Linked DNA regions of Homo sapiens: regions 2, 3, 4 and 5 are each linked to region 1. Evidence: promoter capture Hi-C in human tissues and cell types (Jung and others, 2019). All regions are on one chromosome and are shown on one strand. The core of a region is centred on a gene start or on the middle of the fragment in contact, and the rest is flanking DNA. Distances in the headings are between cores, read along the strand shown.

Evidence for each region. The method cuts DNA at HindIII sites, captures the fragments that hold promoters and counts their contacts. A contact is called where the count stands out against the background at its distance.
Region 2: a fragment that was not itself captured here is called in contact with the fragment with the promoter of TMEM44 in region 1 in 1 of the 25 tissues and cell types used here (dorsolateral prefrontal cortex).
Region 3: a contact is called between a fragment that was not itself captured here and the fragment with the promoter of TMEM44 in region 1, in 2 of the 25 tissues and cell types used here (dorsolateral prefrontal cortex and spleen).
Region 4: a contact is called between a fragment that was not itself captured here and the fragment with the promoter of TMEM44 in region 1, in 1 of the 25 tissues and cell types used here (pancreas).
Region 5: a contact is called between a fragment that was not itself captured here and the fragment with the promoter of TMEM44 in region 1, in 3 of the 25 tissues and cell types used here (pancreas, spleen and thymus).

What each region holds. Positions count from the first base shown.
Region 1 is chr3:194,631,162-194,635,621 of GRCh38, reverse strand. TMEM44 (transmembrane protein 44) reads left to right here and starts at 2,203. Exons shown (of 10, transcript NM_001011655.3): 1 at 2,203-2,543. The coding sequence starts at 2,407. TMEM44-AS2 (TMEM44 antisense RNA 2) reads right to left here and starts at 2,694. Exons shown (of 2, transcript NR_186047.1): 1 at 2,455-2,694. RefSeq lists a silencer at 2,005-2,434. The HindIII fragment of the contact is 16,299 bases long and covers 1-4,460 here.
Region 2 is chr3:195,133,821-195,138,280 of GRCh38, reverse strand. All of the region lies in intron 3 of XXYLT1 (xyloside xylosyltransferase 1), which reads left to right. MIR3137 (microRNA 3137) reads left to right here and starts at 3,701; the gene lies at 3,701-3,775. The HindIII fragment of the contact is 6,136 bases long and covers 1-4,460 here.
Region 3 is chr3:195,111,503-195,115,962 of GRCh38, reverse strand. The region is part of intron 3 of XXYLT1 (xyloside xylosyltransferase 1); the gene reads left to right. Among named protein-coding and RNA genes, the nearest start is that of XXYLT1-AS1, 19 kb to the right of the region's middle. The HindIII fragment of the contact is 3,156 bases long and covers 182-3,337 here.
Region 4 is chr3:195,072,122-195,076,581 of GRCh38, reverse strand. All of the region lies in intron 3 of XXYLT1 (xyloside xylosyltransferase 1), which reads left to right. Among named protein-coding and RNA genes, the nearest start is that of XXYLT1-AS1, 20 kb to the left of the region's middle. RefSeq lists an enhancer at 2,978-3,478. The HindIII fragment of the contact is 7,435 bases long and covers 1-4,460 here.
Region 5 is chr3:194,980,351-194,984,810 of GRCh38, reverse strand. It overlaps LOC105374294 (a long non-coding RNA gene), which reads left to right. Exons shown (of 4, transcript XR_924873.2): 4 at 2,026-3,228. Among named protein-coding and RNA genes, the nearest start is that of XXYLT1-AS1, 110 kb to the left of the region's middle. The HindIII fragment of the contact is 5,353 bases long and covers 1-4,460 here.

The DNA of each region.
Region 1 (4,460 bases), core at 954-3,453:
TTGGCCTCCCAGAGTGCTGGGATTACAGGCATGAGCCACCTTACCAAGCCAAATCATAACTTTGAAAACACAGTGAACCACTAAAATAGTGTAGCCACTTTGGAAAATAGTCTGGCAATTCCTCAAAACATTAAACACAGTTACCACAGATCCCAGCAAGGACACTCCTAGGTATATACCCAAGAGAGCATGAAACCTGTGTCCACACAAAAACTTGTGCACAAATGTTCAGAGCAGCATTATTCATAATAGCCCAAAGGTGAAAGCAATCCAAACATCCCACTAATGAGTGGATAAACGAAATGTGGTATAAAAATACCCATACCATGTATTATGATGAGCCATAAACAGGAATGAAGTACTGATAACACGCAGCAACATGAATGAACCTTGAAAACATGCTAAGTGAAAGTCACAGAAAGGTCATATAGTGGATGATTCCATTGATGTGGAATGTCCAAAATGGGCAAATCCATAGAGACAGAAGGTAGATTTGCGATTCCTGGGCTGCGAGTGTTGAGGGGAGTGGACAGTAACTGCCAGTGGGCCGGGTTCTTTTCAGATGGGGGTGATGAAAATGTTCTAAAAGTAGACAGTGATGTTGGTTGCACAACGCTATGGATACACTAAAAACTGCTGAATTGTACATTTTATTTTTTGTTTTGTTTTGAGATGGAGTCTTGCTCTGTCGCCCAGGCTGGAGTGCAGTGGCGCCATCTCAGCTCACAGCAATCTCCGCCTCCCAGGTTCAAGCAGTTCTCCTGCCTCAGTCTCCCGAGTAGCTGGGATTACAGGCGCCTGCCATCATGCCTGGCTAATTTTTGTGTTTTTAGTAGAGATGGGGTTTCACCATGTTGGCCAGGGTGGTCTCAAACTCCTGACCTCAAGTGATCCACCTGCCTCGGCCTCCCAAAGTGCTGGGATTACAGGCGCGCACCACCATGCCCGGCTAATTTTTGTATTTTTAGTAGAGACAGTGTTTCACCATGTTGGCCAGGCCGGTCTTGAGCTCCTGACCTCAAGTGATCCGCCTGCCTCAGCCTCCCAAAGTGCAGGGACTACAGTTGTGAGCCACCGTGCCTGGCCAGAATTGTACATTTTAAAAGTACTATGTAGGCTGGATGTGGTGGCTCACACCTGTAATCCCAGCACTTTAAGAGGCTGAGGAGGGCAGATCACGAGGTCAGGAGTTTAAGACCAGCCTGGCCAACATGGTGAAACACCGTCTCTACTAAAAATACAAAAATTACTCGGGTGTGGTGGCGGGCACCTGTAGTCCCAGCTACTTGGGAGGCGGAGGCAGGAGAATTGCTTGAACCTGGGAGGCGGAGGCTGCAGGGAGCTGAGATCGCACCATTGCATTCCAGCCTGGGCAACAGAGTGAGACTCTGTCTCAAAAAAAAAAAAAAAAAAAAAGACTATGCTTATGGCATATAAATAATATCTAAATAAAGCTGTAGTTTTTGAAAATTAAAAAAGATTTTTTTTCTTTTTTTCAATCCTGCTCCTTCTATAGAAATATTGTTTTCAAGTCATGTCTTGCTTTAAACAAACCTACTAAAATCAATAAGGAGATTTAAAAATTACAATAATAGTTTACTCTCAAGAAAAACAGCCCTGTGTACTTGAACTGTGCGGTGTGTGGCTGGACAGGAGGCGGCCGGTTGCAGAGATAACCAGCTCTTGGCTGCGGGGCCGTGGGCTAGGATGACATCCAGGAGCAGGGCTTGGGCGACTGCCTGGGGGCGGAGGGTGCCGTTGGCAGCTTCAGAAAGGAGAGTGAGAGGCAGATGTGGGGGTATTTGTTCTCCGGCACGTTTGTTTCCTCCTTCCTGGTCTTGCACCCCACCCTTTTTACTGCGCCCTGTCGGCGATCAGGACCACGCCCCCTTCACCTCGGGATCCCAGCACCCATGCGCTTCAGCAGCGCAACTAATTGCTGTTGGCTCAGGAAATGTGGACAATACGCAGGAAGGGACGCCGTGCCTTACAGCGACCGGCAGGGACTCGGCCGTCCGCGAGCCCAGCCGCCCGCCCCGCTCCGGCCAGGATGTTGGAGGTGGGTGACCGCGAAGAGGTCGGCGGGGGGCGGGGGCCGCAGTCTTTGTGCGCGCGCAGCTCCCGGCTCCCGCCGCTGGGGGGCGGCCTCCGCCCTGCCGACCCCCGACAATAGCGCGAGGGGTGGGGAGCGCGCGGTCCCGGAAACTTTTCCCCGGCGCCTTCGCCGCCGCCGCCCGCGCCCGGGAGCGCGCCCTTCTCTGCCCGCGGTCGGTGCGCTCGGCCGGAGGCGCCGCGGCGGAACGGAACCCAGAGAAGGGCACGCGGGGCGGCGGCGCTCGGGGCTTGCCCGCGGCGAGGGAGGCTGCGCCCAGGTCCCCGGCCCCGCGCCGCGCGCCCAGCCGCGCCATGGGGGAGGCGCCCAGCCCCGCGCCCGCGCTCTGGGACTGGGACTACCTGGACCGCTGCTTCGCCCGCCACCGCGTCTGCATCTCCTTCGGCCTGTGGATCTGCGCCTCCTCCTGCTGGATCGCCGCCCACGCGCTGTAATGGGGCCACGGGTCGGGGGGCTGTCGGGCGGGGAAACGGGCGCCAATCCCCTGCTGCTCCCTCTCGGAAACCTAGAGGAGGGGGCGGAAAGGGGGATGAAGGAGATGGCTCAGTAATAGGATCCAATGGAACATTGCTCTGTAGACTGAAGTGGGATCTTCTTTCCGGATCCCACGCACAGGGAAGCTGGGCTGTGAGCCAAAGGGAGGAGGCTGGGTGGTGCAGCGGATGGGGCCCCGAGGACACCGCGAGCCCTGGGTGCTATTGTCAGCCCTTCGCCATTGACTCGCAGTGTGACCTGGGCAAGCTCCAGAACCTCTCTGGGCCTCCTATGACCGGAGATAATACCTCATAGGATGATGGGAGGATTCGATGAATCAGTACCGTTAAAGCACTTAGTAAATGCTCATTAAACATCATTTGTATTGCTCCAGCTAGGCCACCAACTCTTAGGACCTTGGCAAGTCCCTTGATGTTTCTGGCCTCAGTTTACCCAAAGTCCTCTTAGGTGGGAAGGGAGGTAGTGATATGATCCAGCTGGCCTGTCTTTGCCCTGGTCTGTCCAGCACCTGGACTGGTTTGTCCAGATGCCCACGGTAGCCTAAGTTCTAAGAGTGAATCTCCAGGTCCTCAGCCGCTCTGTCCTAGGCATGGAAATCCACTAGCAGTGCTCAGGATGGTGCCGCCCAAGCATTCCCTGGCAGGGGAGAAAGGACCAGCACCCCTGGGAGAGGTTAGAACTGTCTCCCTGTAGGCACTCAGTGGATATTCTCCTAAGGCGTTTGGTCGTATTGCAGAGATTCTGCAGCCCCACTACCCAGTACTGCAATACAAATAAAAAGACGCCTAGAACATTTACTGTAGGCCCAGTGTTGCATTCATTAACTCATTCAATGCCTGCCACTCACAATATCAGCACCAGGAGGTAGGTGCTGTTACCCCCACTTTCTGTAGGGAACCCTGAGGTTCTGAGAGGTTAAATAACTTGTCTGAGTGAAAGGAAAGAACCAAAACCCCAGATCCTATTGGAAAGGGGCAGGCTGGTAAGAGAGATTAAACTGTTCAGATCAGAGGCTGGAAACTAACAAGGCGCTGGACACGCATTATCCTTTTGTTCCTCACAGTTGTCCTCAGACCAGCACTGTTAGGCACTTTGCCAACCTTGGAGGGGTTAAGAGTGAGCCTCTGCTTCTCACCCTGCCTGGGATCTGGACATACCCATTTGTTTTCAGGGCCTTGCCATCCCTGAACCTCCCCTGCTCCCCTTTCTCTTAGAAGAATGTGTCTTCGGAGTGGTGTGTGGGCTGGGTTAAGGTCAGCTGGCACCCTGGCCCCAAGAGCTGGGGAAGTGGCTGAGAACAACAGGGTACGGAGCAAAGCCCCCGCGTGTGAAGCCAGAAGACCACCATTAACTCACCTTCTCACCAGAGGCCTCAGTTTTGTCCTCTCAAATGGGAGGGTTGATATAAATTATTTCTAATTGGGGTCCGCCTCTGGGAGTCTCCAATTTAAGAATCTCCACTCCTTGGTCTTCAATTGGTTTTAGGAGCCCAGGGCCCAGACTGAAGTTGATGTTGCCACTGTGAGCTTCAGGCTTGGGCCAGCAGGTCAGGAAATGTTTAGAAAGCCAAGAGCCCTCTGTACTCATCCACCATTCCCAAGGACAGGCGCTCAGAATCAGCTAAATCGTCCTAAGGATGTGGAATGAGCACCACCCTCTGCTGAGTGGAAATGAAGCCAGCGCTGCCACCCTGTCTCGGTGTCTCCAGAGAAATGTAGCAAGGAGGCAGGTACGACAATGTATTTCAGAGGCCCTATCAGTGACGCCGATAGAAACAGCCAGCCCCTTCGGAAGGCAGGTACGACAACATATTTCAGAGGCCCTATCAGTGACGCTGAGGGAAACAGCCAGC
Region 2 (4,460 bases), core at 498-2,997, 500 kb before region 1:
CTCTAATTACATCTTGTAGTTTTAAGGCTTGGTTATTATTTTCAAATGATGGCATGAAGCGGAGGGAACTGAAGTCCCTAGCAGGAATAAAACCAAATCACTTAAATTTCCTGGGAAGATAACTTGCTTCTCTTATTGCCATTGTGGAGATAGACTAAAATGTTGGCAAAGTTTCTGTCATTGAGGTTGACTTCTGGCTCCATCACTTACTGGCCAAATGACTTTGCGAAACATACTTAAACCTCTTAAAGCCTCTGTTTCCTCATCTGTGAAATGGGGAGACACCCAGCATATGGGCTATAAAACGAGAACCTCCCCTTCCATGGCATATTTGAGATCTGGGACTCACATGTTGCTATGCAGGCAGAAAGGGTGTGTCTGATAAAGCCTGCCTGCCAGTTCTGACCTGCAAGGGTTTATGACCCCTCTCTTCCTCCTGTTTGAGAATCACTGGCCTTCAGGACCTACTTAAGGGTACTCAGTAAGTAGCTGAGAATACAATGATGTCATGTACACATGACATAATACTAAGCACAGAGCAGCTCCATCAGAGCCCTCTCCCTTTCTCCGTGTCCGATACAAGCCATAACTTTCCTTGGTGCTGTGAAGCCAAAGCAGGCAGTATTTACAGAGCACGGAGAGGTTAAATGTAGAGTGCGCAGCAGCACCACCTCTGAAGCCAGAAGGAATTTGTCCTGGCCTAGAAAGGGAGTGTGCTGTGCAGGAAGGAATCACCTTCTGCCTTGGATGAAGCTGCCACTAGCCCCTTTCTCTTCACGGTCTTTGAGGTTACAGGCAGGTGCACACCCTTACCCCACCCTTTACCCATGTGGGAAAACATGGCTTTGTGCTCTTATCCATGGTGCAGAAGACCAGTGCCGAAAGCCCAATGGCAAAGGTGCAGAAACTGTGGCCAGATTGGAGCTGACCATGTGTGGTTTTGTAAATTGCCAGCTGAAAATAGCTTCCAACAATATGGGGTCAAGGATTTTTGAAGCACCATTATTAAAGCATCTCAAACTTCAGTTTGTAATGCCCCTGTCCCTACATGTCACCCCTTCCCCTGCCCCAGAAGAAAAGTGTCACACCCCACTTTGTTTCTCCCTCCACTTTTTTCTTCCCTTCAGTGCCCCTTCTCTGTCCTGGCCCCCACAGCAAGCTGATGAGGCACCTGGGCACTGTGGCAGGCTGTACCTGTATGATTGAAGGATCCCATTGGCTGCCTGCAGCTAAGCCTAAGCTTGTGGACAGCCTCCTAGGACTCGAACGAGTTGCAGTGTAATCATCTCCTTTTAGACACTCAATCCTGTGCTCATTTCTCAGTTTGAGAACCTGTTTTCTGGGTCCAGGCCTTTCTGATGAAGGTTTTTACCCTTCGACGCCACTTCTAAAAATGGTCTAAAACAAAGAATAAGTTATTTATCTCCTTGGACCTCTGCTTGTTTTTATTTATTTATTTATTTTTCTTGTCCAGGCTGAAGTCTCCATGCCCTTTGACAGACATGCAGTGGCCTTCCTGGCAGCTCCCTGCGTCCTGTGAGCTGCCCACTTCACCTTGTGTGCTTCTGGCCAGGGCTTATAGCAGTGCTGTCGTCCTGTGTGCTTGAACGGTGCTCAACTGTGTGCAAATTGGTTTTACATTCATATTTTAAATTTGCTCCTCATACTAATTCAGTGACATAAGAACGCAGGTGGTTTTATCCTTGTTTTGTAGAAGACACTAAGTTTTCGGTAAGTTGCGTTCACCCGGGGCCGCTTGGTCAGGACTAGAACCCAGGTTCCTGGGCTCAGTCCCCTGCCTGTCCCCTCTGCCCCTGAGGTCCTGGAGTGATGGTTCTTAGACCACATCCTCTATTTCCTGAATTAGGAAATAGCAGCTCTTGAGATGTTTTGCAGTCTCCTACCCAGCCACCTTATAGCCTGGGTCACTGAGTCCCATTTATTTTTTTGGGCCGGGGTGGGTTGCAGTATACAGGTGTATGTTAAAGATAGTCTTTTCATTCAAACCTATAGGAGCACTGAGGGTCCTACGTTGGCGTTTGAGCGCTGTCCGAGTGGATCTCTCATCTCTGTCCACAGTCACATTTGGCAAAGGCTGCATTTCTGCTCTGACGTGTGGGGCTCTCTCCAGCAAAATGATGTTATCGCTTTTCCTCCCAGCATGGTGACGGCCCTGGTGATGCTGTGATCAGTGTGTAATTAAAGGCAGCCGTGCATGGCTGCTCTCAGACTGTTGCTGAGGGCTTCTGATCATTGGGAAATCTCAGTGGTGTAGGTTTTAGTGGAAACTGTATCCAGCCAGGCCATTCATAGCTTCTACACCATAGAGGGAATGTTGGTCATTATCAGAGGGCATGGGTTTCACTTTTTTATGTCTGCAGCCTGAGTCGGGTGAACCTTTCTCTTACCCTAGGGAAGCACTAGAATAATGCCTGCCTGCCTACCTGACTGCCGTCCTGCCATCCCCGTCTGTCCATCCGTCCATCCATTTATCCATCTAAGGTGACAGCAAAGATTTACTGTAGAAAATCTCTTTCCCACAGTAAAAACCTCTTTTCTACAGTAGAAAGCTCTTCCAGTCTGAGTTTCCGTGTCTGCCCCTTCAGTCACAGGAACCCCATCCTGCTATGTACTGCAAAAGCAGCTGACTTCTGCCACAGTGTCATTCCCGTGGGTCTCAGCCTCCTGGTGCTGAGGCCTAGGGACTGTGTTCCGAGCCAGCCTGGGTTCTCCAGGGAAGTGTGGAGGTGCCCAGTGTGTCATCTGCCCTGGAAAATGGAAGCCACTTGTACTTCACTGTCCTCCCTCCCATCTCCCAACACCCCTTTCTCTTCACTGAAATGCTGAACAAACCTCCCTGCCCCTGCTGACTGACTCTTTTTTGATAAGGGGATGGAAAGATAGACTCAGGTGCCTCGGGTCCAGTCCCTTCCTATCCACCTTGGTTTCCTCCTGTGTAAAATGAGAAAGGTGAATTGAACTATCTTTCCTAACTCTAGCAGACCATTATAGATTCTGTTGATATCGTCGCAGAATTCTGGGAATGGGAGGGACACCGAGGGTATCTCGCCTCATGTTGGATTCCGCCTGCAGCATCCCAGATCTGTCAGTCTCAAGCGGATCACCTCCCACAGTGGGGACGTGGCCACTTTCAGAGCAGCCCATTATTTGATGATTGGATGAGTTTGTTAGAATGTCTTTCTGTCTATTAAACCTAAAACAATCTACGCCCCTGTGGTTTCTACCCATTGCCCCTGCCAAACATACTCTGATGCCAAACGAAAACATGTCCTCACACCTTTCCCCACAAAAGTCCTTCAGATACTCAGATTTACAGAAAAGCTCTTATTTACTGAGTCGTCTTTGGAAATAGCTGATAGCTCTTTGCACGTGCGCGCACGCGCGCACACGCACACACACACACACACACACACACACACACACACACACACACCCCTCTTCACGCCATGATGCCAGCCAGTGGGAAATACGGATGGAAAGCGTTTCCTCTCTGCCAGGCTTCCAGAGGCAGGGAGCAGGCCTGTCTGGAGGAACTCTATGCAGACATACATTTCTTACCGGGGAAGCCAGGGCCCCAGCTTGTAGCTTTCTCCGAGTCCCTTCCTGGCATCCTGAAGATTAATCTTGTCAGCTGCTGGGAACACAAATGTGTGTGCTGATTCATTACAGTAGCATGGTATACAGGTCTGTAGCCTGGGAGCAATGGGGTGTATGGTATAGGGGTAGCCTCGTGCTCCTGGGCTACAAACCTGTACAACATGTTTCTGTACTGAACACTGTAGGCAGCTATAACACAGGGGTAAATATTTGTATATCTAAAAATACTTAAATATAGAAAAAGTACAGTACATAGAAAGAGTAAAACATGAAAAATGGTGCCTCTGTATAGGGCATCTACCATCAGTGGAGCTTGTAGGACTGGAAGTTGCTCCGGGTGCGTCAGTGGGTGAGTGTGAAGGCCTGGGACGTTACTTTGCACTGCTGTAAGCTTTTTCTATTCAGGCACCTGTAGGCTATGCTAAATTTATAGAAATAAATGTTCTTTCTTCAAAAATAAATTAACCTGAGCTTACTGCAGCTCTTTTCCTTAGAAACTTTTAAATTTTAAAAACCTTTTTGACTCTTGTAATAACACTCAGCTTAAAACACAAATATATTGTACAGCTGTACAAAAATTTCTTTCTTTCTTTCTGTCTGTCTGTCTGTCTTTTACTTGGCAGGGGTCTCACTATATTGCCGAGGTTGGTCTCAAACTCCTGGGCTCAGGCGACCCTCCTGCCTCAGCCTCCCAAAGTGCCAGGATTACAGGCATGAGCCTCCACACCCAGCCAAAAGTAAATACTTTTTCTTTTTATCCTTATTCTGTAAGCTTTTTTCCATTTTGTAAGTTTTTAATTTTTTAAAACTTTTTTGTTAAAAACAAGCCAAACACATACATC
Region 3 (4,460 bases), core at 510-3,009, 480 kb before region 1:
ACTTGAGTTTCCTGCCATCTCCTGAGCGGCCCAGCTCCTTATCACTGTCCCTGTCACCTGTCCTCGGTCTTTGTCTCCTGAGCCTGAGGACAGCCTCAGCGCCTCCAGTTTTCATACAGAGCTGCCCCCATCAGACCCTCTCGCCCTCTGACAAAGCACTGTTAGTTACTCTCTAGATAACCGAGGTCCGGTCCTGGCCTGCACCTGCCGCCCTCCTTCCTCCACCTCGGACGTGAACACCTCAGCTCAAAGGTGAGAGCGCACACGGTGTGCTGCCGGAGCCAGACGAGGGGGTTACTGCTCCGCACCAGATGAAGGGAGTCGTCCTGTAAATAGCTGTGCTTTCCAAACCACTTCCACTGTGGCTCCTGAGGCCTTCACGCGTGCTCGGTTTGCCAGGCAGGGTTTATCAACCAGGGATCGCGTAGGAAGCAGAAACCACTCCAGGTGGTGTAAGCAGAAGGAGTTTCTTGTTGGAATTAGGTGCTTACAACATTGTTGGAGGGGCTCAAGGGGCAGGTTTCCGGCTGGGCCTTTTGAAGGACTCCTGGCTAGTTCAGAAGCAGCTGTTGCCAGCCCACAGCCATTCCTGGACTCTCTAGGAGGCTGAAGGATGAACAGTCTAAGTTGAGGTCTGAGGATTATGGAGTTTGGACAGAAATCACCACCACTGCCCTGCTTTTCTGGTACTCAGGAAGCGGCAGCACGACCTGGGTTCAAGGTGACTGGGACCGTCTAACCAGCAGTGACAGCCAGAAGCCACATTCTCACCGGGCACGTCTCATGTGAGCACACTAGTTCCCGAGTCGCAGCACCTGATTCACGTCCCGAGCTCTCGCCGTTTGGGCATCTGGGAAGCTTAGTTTCCCTCGTTCCAACCTCTCAATAGGAGGAGGATCAACGGGAGGTTTGGGAGGAGCCAACTGTGCAACCTCAGCTAGGTACGATTTTGACGAGTGGAACGGGTGGGGCCTGCGGCATTCACACTCCCAAGCTCAGCCTCCACCCAGGAGTGACTGCGCCCAGGCCGACCCCGGTGTCTTCCCACACTTGGCGTTAGCACCTTCTGCAGGTGGCAGCCTCCTTGCACCGGCAGGGAGACCACTGAGCGGCTTCACTCCTCCCTGGTTTTCTAAGCCTGTAAGACTGCTACCTTCCTGCGTGCTCCAAAAGCGATTGCTTTTTCACTTAGTTTCGTCTGATTGACGAAAGCTTGTCACAAGCTTGACAGAGGTTCAGGGAATGTGGGCAAAGCCGCGCTGCCTTCTACATCAAGTGCTGTTCATTTGGGTCATTAGGATTTCATGTCTGGTCCTGGTCTTCGTAATTAAACGTGTAAAGAGATGTCCTCCCAGCACTGTCATGAGCAGGAACTTTTTAGTAGAAATGTACTTGTTGATGACATGGTTGTATAATGTGATTGTGGGTGTAGGGGGACAGATGTGTTTCAAGTGCTAGAGAAATGACAATGATTTGGGTCTCATGGGACCCAGGCACAGGACCGTACACAGAGCAGGTGCTCAAAATGGCTTATTTAGTACATGGAGTGAAATGAAAAGAAGCTCAACGCAGGTGGAAGGTGATGCTCCGTGTCTCCCGGCTCTCCAGGCAGTAGTCATTCCTTGGCCCCTCAGATCCTCCATTTTGGGTGCAATGGTGTGGCTGTACTTTGTGGAGAAACAAATTTGGGCAGCTGAGTTCAGGGCTTCACGTGGAGGAGCGAGAAGGGGGCCACCCAATGCAGCTTTCCCTGGAAGCGTGTGGACTGGGGCACAGTTGTTGCAGGATGATTGGCTGCCACCATAAGTGGGCAAAATCATGGGCAGATCATCCTGCTTCCTTAATTGAATCTTGGAATGCATTCAGAATCTTCAACCCAGGGGTCTGGCACTCAAGGCGTTTGTGACCTGGCACTGACTCAGTACGCTCTAGCCAAATTGGGCACTCATGGCTCCCAGATGCTGTGCCAAGCTTTCACCTGCTTATCTTTGCTTGCACTGTTCCTGCCACCTGGAGGGACTTCTCTTCACCCATCTCTACCTTGAGAAATCCTCTCTGTCATTCATGGCCAACTCAGACACCCCTTCTTCATAGCATTCTTTGCCCGCCGGCCTCAGGAGCACCCTCTGGCACTATCAGAATGCCCAGGGCTCCTTTCCACCCTTTTCTCCTGGCCACAACCCTTTCTCCTGGCCACACCCCTTTCCGCCTCTTTGCCTGGTCCTGTGGGTGCTGTGCAGGCTCCCTCAGCCAAGCTCGGCATTCCCAGGCCTGGCTCCGAGTAGGTGTTTGTGGAATGAATGGCTAAAAAGTAAAGCAAAAAGCTCATGAAACAGAGGGGAAATCCAAAACTGATTAAAGAGAAAAAGGATTCTAACAAAAAAGACCGTGAGTGCTGGGTTCACACTGCCTGGGTTCAGGTCCTGGCTCCACTATTTAATAGCCCTGTGACCTTGGACAAACCAGTAAACCGCTTTGTGCCTCAGTTTCCCCCTATGTTAAGGATAAGCGTACTACCTAATCAGGGATGTTCTGAGAATTAAGATTCTTGAAAACATGTCAGCTTCTTGGAACGGTGCCTGCCTCGTAGTAAGTGTTAATATACGTTAGTGCACCACTCCCCTCCCAAGCTTTCCCAACTCCCTGGCTTGTCGAAGATAGTGTCAGAAACTGGCGTTTTTCCGAGCTCCCGCCAGATGTTCACCTCCGTTTCCATCCTGCAGTTGCGGCGAAATCAGTGGGAGATGTTTTCCTGAGGCGGCTCCATCCTTACTGTGGAAGGGAGAAAAGACGGGAAGGTCCACGGACCAAGGAGTGGCTCTTGCCAGGCTCTGTGCGAGGGCTCCTCATATGAAATGCTGTTTAATCTTCACACAGCCTCTGGGTATGGATTAATGTTCCTATCTGGGAGGAAGCTGAAGCTCAAAGAAGAGCAACAGCTTGCCTGGGATGGCACGGCGAGTGAGGGGCATGGCTGCAGTTGAAACCCAGATTGGATTTTGAAACCCATGTTCTCTTGACTGCTTCATCCAGCTGTTCCCACCACCTGGGGCTGGAGGCTGGGGGCTGCGTGTATGTGCGCACATGTGTGCATGCATGTGTGTGCATGCGTGTGGGTGTGTGTGCGTGTGTGCGCTGCTTCAGCTGTTCCCACCACCTGGGGCTGGGAGCTGCGTGTGTGCATGGGTGTGTGTGTGTGCATGCGCGCACTGCTTCAGCTGTTCCTACCACCCGGGGCTGGGAGCTGCGTGTGTGCATACGTGTGTGTGTGCACTGCTTCATCCAACTATTCCCACCACCCGGGGCTGGGAGCTGCGTGTGTGCATGGGGGTGTGTGTGTGCACATGTGTGCGTGTGTGTGCATGCGTGTGTGTGTGTGCGTGCGTGTGTGTGCACTGCTTCATCTAGCTGTTCCCACCTGGGGCTGGGGGCTCTGTGTGTGTGTGTGGGTGTGTGTGGGTGTGTGCATGTGTCCATGCGTGTGTGCATGTGTGTGGGTGTGCACATGCGTGTGGGTGTGCGTGCGTGTGTGTGCATGTGTGTGTGTGCGCGCACGTGCGCACGTGCAGTCCTTGCTGGGGTGGGTGGGCTCGATGGCCCTGCCCCGAGTTGCCTCAGAACTGAGCAGAGTGGATCAGTGTGGACAGATCTTCTGGGGCTTGCGAACCCCAAAGCATCAGCGAAACCCGTGTTTGCCCAGTGTTCAGCCATGGCAGCCCACAGAACCTGACCCGGATTCCAGTAGGCTTTTGCCCAGGTGTCGCTGAGATGTCAGCAAGCCTCAGTTTCCTAGTTCATGGGCCCTCCTGACGGCTAGAAATGGTCTCGTGGGTTTTAAGAATAATTATAACTATCTTGTCCTCACTTAAGCTGATTTGGTATATACCAATGTACTGATTGATATTAGCACCCGTCTCATTTGCACATTTCTGCAGCGATAGTAATGCCAAGTAAACTGTAGAAGAAATGAGTTCCTGAGGCATTTACAGGCAATCAGGATGTTCACTTTGCATGTAGAGCAGGCACGCGCTATTTGAATCAAGCTTCCACGATTGGGGCGAGCAAATGATCTTGTATTTACATATTTTTCCGAAGGCCACTTTACCTCAATTTTAAATCTTTAAGTTGAGTTCCTATTTTTGAAAATTCTGTTTTGTTGTAACTGAGGTAATCCAGCCTCAAGGCCCTGTGAAGACAGCTTATGTTAGAAGTCTGTCTGTTAATCTTACCACGTTGAAGACAGTGGAATTCTGTGAGAAAAGATAGGCTTCACGAGTCAGTACCAGTGGTAGATGGGTGGGCCAGTGATAGTATAATACTCGTTCAGCTTGGTCACAATCAGCGTGTCCTTTACCTGCTGCTTACAGACGTTCACAGTGACAGATGCTCCCGTCATGAGAGACACTGAGCACCATCAGACACCTGCCCCTGGAGCGCCATCCTAGCCAGAGAGATACACA
Region 4 (4,460 bases), core at 1,192-3,691, 440 kb before region 1:
GGTACTTTGCGATGGCAGCCCTAGCGAACTAACAGAGCCCAGTGGTCTTTAGGTAAAAATGAGGCCCACTGTGCAGGCTGTAACAGGGGCAACTCTCCAGAATGCTTGGCTTGTCTAGTAGCCACCCCAGTGCCCTGTCACGACTGTCCCTCCTCCCACCGAAGGCCCCTGCGTGACATAATTCAAAACGACTCAGACTCCGGGAACACGCGCGGTCGAGTTCCAATGTCTGTGCCGCAGTCGGCCCCGTGACCCCGTGCGGGCTTCTTCCTCTCTGGAACGGGTGGGTGTGGGGTGGGTGGTAACACTGTCCTGATTAAAGCTGTGCACATCTGCTCAGCAGATGTCACCTCTTTTCTCACTTCCCCGAGCCCCCAGACCTTCCTCCAGGCCCTCTTCCTTCCCTGAACCTCTGTTCTCTCAGGCTGTGCAGATGGTGCAGAGATGCCAGCAGTTGCAAAGCAGGGCCCTGGCAGCCTCCAGCGTGCGGGGAGAGGCTCCAGGAGGCGGAGGCCGTGGTGCTGGTTCTTTCTGGAGGGGAGGAGCTGTGGCTCATGTTGGAGGGAGGGCCTGGAGGGGAAGCCCTCTGCGGTGTGCCTCCCCACAGGGTCTCTGTGGGGCCCGGTGCCCCAGCAGTCCTCTCCTGTCCTGCCAGGCAGCCTGGTTGCAGCACTGAGGGCCAACCCCAGTGCCCACTCAGCCTGCAAAGCAACAGCCGCGCCTCGACCTCGCTTGCCCCTTCCAAGTTCTGGGGATGTTGTGGTTTGGCAACTCAGTTGCTGGCCTTCAAAGAGGGCTGGGGTTTGAAAACAAGCACATGTTTCTTAGGAGGTCCCACAGACGAGGGTGAGCACATGCCTGCCACCTGCTTAGTGTCCCTCCTATTTCCCCAGGCAAGTCCTGCCAGCCACTCGGGCACCCAGCTCTCCTCCAAGTGCTAGTGTGGTGAGCTTGGAGGACGTGGGCCCTGCTGGAGGGGAAAGCACAGCCTCTGCGCCTCCTGGCAGGCTGGCTTTGTCTGAGCGGTGCTGCCTCGCCTCACCACAGGGCTTGTTTTGGGTAGGTGGGAGGCAGCAGTTCCCTTTTCTGGGCAGAGGCATTTGTGGAAAAGCATAAATTATTTGCCTGGAAATGTGGAGTTGCCCTTTCAGCAGCGTGACCCTGGACAGGCCAGTTTTTGAGCCTCAGCTTCCTCATCTGCACAATGGGTATATGAACCAGGAGTCCCTCAGTCTTCAGGCTCTGGTAGACCGTGGCTCTATGAGGAGCATCTCTTAGTCCTACTGCAAATGGCCTGTGTGACGTTAGGAACACTTATTCTTTTTTCTTGAGACGGAGTTTCACTCTTGTTGCCCAGGCTGGAGTGCAATGGTGCAATCTCAACTCACTGCAACCTCTGCCTCCCGGGTTCAAACGATTCTCCTGCCTCAGCCTCCTGAGTAGCTGGGATTACAGGCGCACGCCACCATGCCCGGCTAAGTTTTGTATTTTTAGTAGAGACGGGGTTTTGTCATGTTGGCCAGGCTGGTCTCGAACTCCTGACCTCAGGTGATCCGCCCACCTCGGCCTCCCAAAGTGCTGGGATTACAGGTGCGAGCCACCGCTCCCGGCCTGGGAACACTTCTTACCTTCTCTGTCCAGTAGAGCTGGAGACCTCAGCCTGCTTTAGGTCTTGTTATCAAGAGATCCTAATAAGGGTCAGTTCTGAGCTGGCAGTAAGGACTGCTCTAGGGACACGGGTACTTAGAGCTCCGTGGTGGTCCTACAACTCCAGGATGTCCATGTCTTCTCCAGTTTGATACCACAGGGCAGTGGTTCCCCTAAAGGACTGAAGAGCTCGAGACTGCCCCACAGAACTTCAGCCTTAGCTCCAGGTAGGACCAAGATGCAGGGTCATGGGTCTGAAATTAGCCGACATCACCCAGCCAGGGCGCAGGGTGTCCGGAGAGCCTCTGGGCCTGGGTGGACTTGAAATGTCCCTGGATCACCCCAGAGGACCTGGCTGGTGTGGATGAAGTGCTGGACAGCTGCTGAGTGTTGCTTTTCCCTCCTGGACTCTCATCTTGGATGACTGGAAAACAAGGTCCCTTCCACGCCAAACGAGCTCATTGGGCCAGGCACACATGCATGGGTATGAGGGAAATCACGTTTCCGGGTTCCAGGCCTCACTGACTGCACAGCCTCTGGGCCGGGTGCTTCCTCTGGGAGGAGGCCCAGATGCTGGCCCTTCAGTGACTGCTCTCAAGGCTGAAGGACGCCCCAGAGGTACGCCTTGCGAGGCCGTGTGCTGAATCTCAGACCTCAAATGGAGCCTTCTTTGCCTGACAGTCTACAGCCTGAACTTAGCCTGAGTCAGCACAGGCTTCTAGAACCTTCCTGCAGAGTCTTGTGCAGACAGCCCAGGCTCAGCATTTTCCCATCCTCGCTTCCTCCCTCTTGGAGGTGGTGGTGGTGAACTCGACCTGAGGAGCTGAGAAAGGGGCAGGAGAAAAAAAATCACGAAGAGTCGGAGGCAAAAGGGCCTGTGGTTTGGAGTGGTGGGAGGAGGAGGTGGGAGGGCTGATGGCCACGTGTGCCCTTTACTGGGGAGGACGAGCCCTTAGATTCTCCAGCCCGGCTCTCTCGAGAGCCCTTAGCAGAGCGGCCTTGGTTGTGATCATCAGGGAAAGACTTGAAGCGAGGAAGTAACTGTGCTTTTCCAAATGACTTCAGATGCCCTTTTCCATAAAGATGGGTTTTCTTCATGAAAACTAGTTGACTAGCTTTTAATAGTCTTTTTTATGATTATTAAGTTATATTCAATGTTAAAAATTTAGAAAATGCATTTATGACTGGAAGAATGTTCTTAAAGCTTCTTAATTTTTATTTTCCCAAAGGGCCTCCTTGACTTCTGAAAAGACCCAATATTTACCAGGGACTGTCTGCGTGGGGGCTTGTTTTCCAGTTGAAATTATTTCTAAAGGGGTGAAAAAGGCTTATCCCCTCTACCGTGGGTCTCCAGGTGACTATGGAAGACAGGAACAAGACTCTCCACAGGCCGGACGGTTAGACAATCCAGATAGTTAGAGCAAAGTGGCTGGGTTGTGGGCATGAGGGGGGGAGGGGTTAGTCAGAGAAACTTCTGGATGCTCCAGGACTCAGAACCAAATACCTGCATTTATACAAAGGTTTCCTGCAGCCTCTGCACGTGCCACAGACAGTGCCCCTGAATATACGTTGTCAGCCCCAGACTCCTGTGAAGAAGGGCAGGGGTCTGGGACACTCACTGCCCTGCCTCGTAGAGGCCTCAGGTCTGAGCCCTAAGTTCCTAATGTGCCAGCATCACCCGATCACCCTGTCCCCTGGCCTCGGCCGGTGCCACCCAAATTCAGAAATAAGATTGAAATCCAAGCGCACCTCCTTGGAACCCTAGCCCGTGGAATCCGAGGCAGTCAGATCAAAGGGACCTCAGAGATCAGAAGCCCTGCCTGCGACAAACTGAGGACCTCTGTTCCCTTTCTGCAAAAATGCAGGCAGTAATGTCCCTGGGCTGCCAGGGAGAGGGAGCCGAGGTGGAGAGTGTGAGAGGGCTTCGTGACCCACGCTGTGCTGTTGCGTTGGGGGGATTGGCGGTACTGCCTGTTTAGGCCATTTTGCCATGGGATAGAAGTTCCTCGCACGAGCTCCAATACTGTCCACACCCCGTACCATTCCTTCTACCCCGAGGCTGATGCGATTCCTCTACGAGAACCAGCAGACACAGAAGCCAGAGAAACCCACCATTCCCTTAGGTGACTGCTCTGTCTTTCTGGGTTCATTTGGGGATAGTAGGGACGCCTTGAACAAGGGCCCCCTGAACATCGCTTTGGGTGGGGACAGTCATTGTTCCTTTTCAGGCTGTGTTTCTGCTGCAGCACACACACGGGGCAGCTTGCACGCCCAATTTCCTGTCCCTCCTTTCCTTCTCAGGCTGATGCCCAGACCAGTCCTTTCTGACCATCATCAAATACCTCTTCATCCTGATTGAGTGGTGGTGCTGAGCATTGTCCCCAAAGAGCCACTTGTGCTGTGGCCTTCTCCTGGAGGCATATTCTGTCCTCTTCTCTCTGCCTGCGGCCCCCATCTCCTGAGCCCAGCGAGCTCAGTGCTAGTTCACTGTTTGCTCCTCCTTGCTGCAGACACAGAAGATTTGGGAGCGTTCCTGCCGAGGTTGGTAAGGATACCTGGAACAGTGGGCGGCCTCTTTGCTCCCCACTTGCTAGGAGTAAAGCCGTTTAAAAAGACACCTGAGCCTCTCCGGGTTCCTGCTCCTCACTCAACCCCACAGTAGATCTGGTGGGGAGGTTGAGGGCTCAGTGAATCTGCAGGTGCAGCATCGTGTCCTCAGTGTCCTGCCCCCTGCTTCCACCCGGTGTCGACAGCTGCACGGTCCACCCCACGCCTGCCTTTCCATCGTTCCTCATCAGCCCTGTGATCTTTCC
Region 5 (4,460 bases), core at 800-3,299, 350 kb before region 1:
CAGGCTTTCCCTGGAGTCCCGCATGGGGCCAGGGTGGGGGTGTTGAACACTGGACCTTGAACACAACTGGGGCAGGCTCTGCCCAGACCTGGCAGATGCACCCTAAACTTCCTTCTCATCCTCCTCCACCTGCAAATGAAGTCAACAGCAGGATCTTAGCTCCACCAGTTACAGACTGTCTGGCTTTGGGCAGGTTATTGGGCCATTCTGAGCCTCAGTTTCCCCAGAATGCCCTCTTCAGTCTCTTAATCCCTGCACCGGGAGACAGGAAGAGACTCTTGGCCCTCTTCATCCCATCCATTCCTCTCCCCTGTCTCCTGCTCCTTACTGGAGTGTGATTTTAACACAACACATCATAATTATGCTTTGAAAGGCAGTCAGTATTAGCAAGGCAGATATCTGTTTAGCTGGAAAAAAAGGAAAGATCCAGGTCAGCTGGGACTTGCTGAGCAGAGCTCATGGACAGCTGCAGGCGAGGCAGGGGGAGCAAAGGGGTAGAGAAGGCGAGGGAGGACAGGGGCTCTGCAACAACCTGAAGGAAGCAGGAGACCAGGTGGGCCCCATGCCCTGGGCTCCTGTGAATTCCAGAGCAGCTGAGCATTTAGACAGGAATCCTCAGGAGAAGGCTGGAGCCCCCCAGCCTCCAGCTGCATCAGGGCAGGACAGCAGGGCGACAGGCCCAGTGGGGTAAGGGACACAAAAGTGTTTATGGACCATGTGGGAATGGGATTAGGCCAGTGCTCAGTAAAGTAGAGGCTCTGATGAGATTTTATGGGCCATATCAAAGGTTTTTGTATAAGTTTTTCTCCCTCTTCCATCTCAAGTTCTTTCATGGCAGGTACTGGGTCTGAGTTTTCTCTGATGGTGCCCAGAGAGTATGTTGGGTGTATCTGGGGACCACACTCAAGTCTGGGTGAGTGTTTGGAGGGGCTTCTGGCAGCGTGGCCTATGCTACTGGAGAGCCATGGGTCTGTAAGCTCAGACAATGGTGTGAGCAGTGGCAGATGTGACATTTCCCAGCCAGGAGCCCTGGCAGGCAGGCAGAGGGGATCAAAGCACAGGGACCTCATTTTCAGCCAGAGAAGGGATTAATGAAGAGCCCAGTGTCCCAAAGGGAGGCTAATTGGGTTCCGAAGAGTGGTAAGTGTTCCTGGGCTCACTTGGCATGGTCCTACCCTCTGAGCCCTGTTTCCTCAAGAATTTAATTTAATGTCCCTTTGTTGAACGCAGCTGTTGGGGGAGGAGTGATTTGGGCTGTTTGGGCTGTTTTGTTTTCCTCCCTCTTTCTTTTCCATCTTTCCCTCCTTTCTTCTCTTGTGGGAAGATGCCAGTGCTTGGTGAACTGGCTGGTTGGGGTGTCCAGACCAACCTTCTCTGAGCAGGCCTTGAGCACAGAAAGCCCTGGGCTCCCTCCGTCTGCTCAGCAGCCCAGCCATCTGCCTTGCTCAGTCCCTGTGGAGACGTTTGCTGGGGCTGCCTTTCCTTGGAACTGGTGGGTGGGGTCTGGCAGGTGGAGAGATACCAGAGCCCAGGCTTCTAATGCTTTTTTTCTGGGATCCTGACATACAGCAGAGACTGGACATACCTCCCCTTCTTCCCTGCTTGATAACCATCCCTGCTGGGCCTCCCAACTTGAAAGGTGGGACCACAGTACTTGTAGAGAAGGACAGCTCTGGAGTTGGCCTGCCTGTGTCTGAATCCTGACTCTGTGTCACCCTGGGCAAGTCATTTAACTTCTTCAAACCTCAGTTTTTGCTCCTGTGAATTAACTAACCCAAAGAGATATTGTGAGTCTTACGTGAGACAACCAGGGTGAAAGTTCAGCACAGGGCCTGGGATATGGTAAGCATGGTGTAAGGATTATAAGCTTTTATTAGTAGGAGAGCATGTTGGTTTCCCATGGCTGTTTTAACGAATTACCATAAACTTATTCCCTCCCAGTTCTGGAGCTCAGAAGTTCAAAATCATAGACAGCCATGCTCCTCTGAAAGCTTTAGGGGATAATTTGTTTCTTGTTTCTTCCAGTTTCTGGTGGCTGCTGGCATTCCTTGGTTTGTGGCCTCATCACTCCAATCTTCAAGGCCAGCATCTTTGAATTTCTCCCTGATCCATCGTCACATGGCCTTCTCATCTGTGTGTGTGGTCAAATCTCCCTCTGCCTCACTCTGATAAGGATAAATGTGTGTGCCTTTAGGGCGTATCCAGATAACCCTCCGTCCCAAGATCCTTAATTTACTCTCATCTGCAAAGACCCCTTTGTTTTGCCATACAATGTAAAATTCACAGGTCACATGGATTAGAATACTGATTTTTTGTGGGGGCAGGAGTCATTTTTCAGCCTACCAAAGATGGAGCAAAGAATTGGAGTGAGGGGGAGACGCTTGAGTGCCTCATCGTCTTAGGACAGGCTCTCTAGTAGCAGACCGTGGGATGAGGTTCACTGTGCACACAGTTTATCAGGGAAGCGCTCCCAGGAGAAACTGGCAAGACAATGGGAGATGCAGGTCAGAGAAGGGGAAGAAACTCAGTAGGGTGAGATTTGAAGTCCCAGCCTGCTCTGGTTTGAATGTGCCCCCTAAAAGTTCATGTGTTACAAACTTCATTGCCAATGTAACAGTATTAAGACGTGGGGCCTTTAAGAGATCCTTGGATCACAAGAGTGGAGCCCTCCTGCATGGATTACTGCCATTATCATGGGAGTGAATTAGTTCTCTAGGGAGGAAGTTACTTCTCACGAGAGTGGGTTGTTATAAAATGAGCTCAGCTCACTTTTGCAGTCTTTTTCATATGTGCTTGCTTGCTCTCTCTCTGTATAATGCCTTCCCCAATGTTATGATGAGCAAGAAAACCCTCACCAGGTGCTGATGCCATGCCCTTGGACTTCCCAGCCTCCAAGACCATGAGCCAAATAACCTTTTGGTCTTTATAAATTACCCAGTATCAGTCATTCTATTAAAGCAACAGAAAATGGTCTAAAACACAGCATCATATTAATCCCACAGAGAGCTTTAAAAAAGGAAATTCACTGATGAAATTGAATCTCACTTTTATCACTACCCATTCCTATTTCCCTCCTTTCCTTTCCAGAGGAAGTTATTGTCATAAATTTGGTATGTGCCTTCTTGTCCACTTAAAAAATGCTTATAATATATATTTGTGTCCCTAATCATGTAAAGTATTATCTTCCACATTTAAAAAATTTATGTAATAAATTTATGTAATAAATAATCTTTCTCTCTCTCTATATATATGTCACTTTGATTTTTTCACTCATTACGGGGCTTAGAAGATCTGTTCATGTCAAGATACGCAGATATAGTTCATTGCTTTTCACTGCTGCTAATTAATATGTACCACTTTTACTTTAGATGAAAATTTAGGTTGTTTAAAAATGTTTTCATTATTACAAGGCTGAGGTGTTTTCTTACCCTCATAGAAGAGTTTCTCTAGGGTTGATGCCTTGGGAATTTTTTCGGTCATAAAATGTGTGCATTTTTCAATGTTAATAATAACTGCAAAGCTGTTCCCCAAATGGCTGTGCTAATTTATCCCCCACTAGCAGTGTTTCTGAAAGTTCCCATTTTCCTCATATTTTCACAAAGATTAGTATTTTCAGACTTTTAATTTTTTTCTAAAATATGGAGATTGACATGATATGAGAAGATTTCAACTTGTTTTCTGTGAGTGCTTCCATGAGTTGAGCGTCTTTTCATGTATTCATGACCACTTGGATTTCCTCTTCTGTGAATTACCCCTTTAAATCTCTTACCCTCTTTCTATTGGGTTGAGCGCCTTTTTCTTATTGAGTTGTAGAAGGTCTTTATATATTCTGAAGACTACCTTTTTGGTATTTCATATTGTAAACAACTTCTAATCTATCATTTTTTGTCATAAAGCATTTTGATTTTGATATAGACAAATCTATGAATTTTTAAACGGTTTGTTCTCTTATATCTTGAAAGCTTTTTATTACCTGATGTCATAAAGATTTTTTTTTAGTAGCTTAAAAGTTATATTTTTAATATATAGGCTTTAGCCAAACTGGAATTTATTTTTGTGCATGCTATGAGATAGGAACCTGATTTTATTCTTTTACATGGAAAGCCATTGTCCCAACACCAAGTATATCTATATATATGTAGTCTCTAAGCTCTCTGATCTATTAATTTGGTCTATTTTTTATTGCTCTATAAATATCACCCAGTTTTATTAGTATAGCTTTATAAGAATTGTTTATATCCTGTTGGTTAAGCCATATTCCCTAATCTCTTATTGTTCTTTAGAATTGCCTCGAATTTTCTTGATGGGATAGGTGAGATGAAACCTAGAAATCCTACAGTCAATTTTCTCCCAAAGGGAAGCCAGCCTAAAAGTAAAGCTGATACCATGGAAGGGAGAGCAGAGATAGGAAGATGCTCGGTCCTTAATGAGATTGTTGCTGAATCAAGCTACTCTGAAGC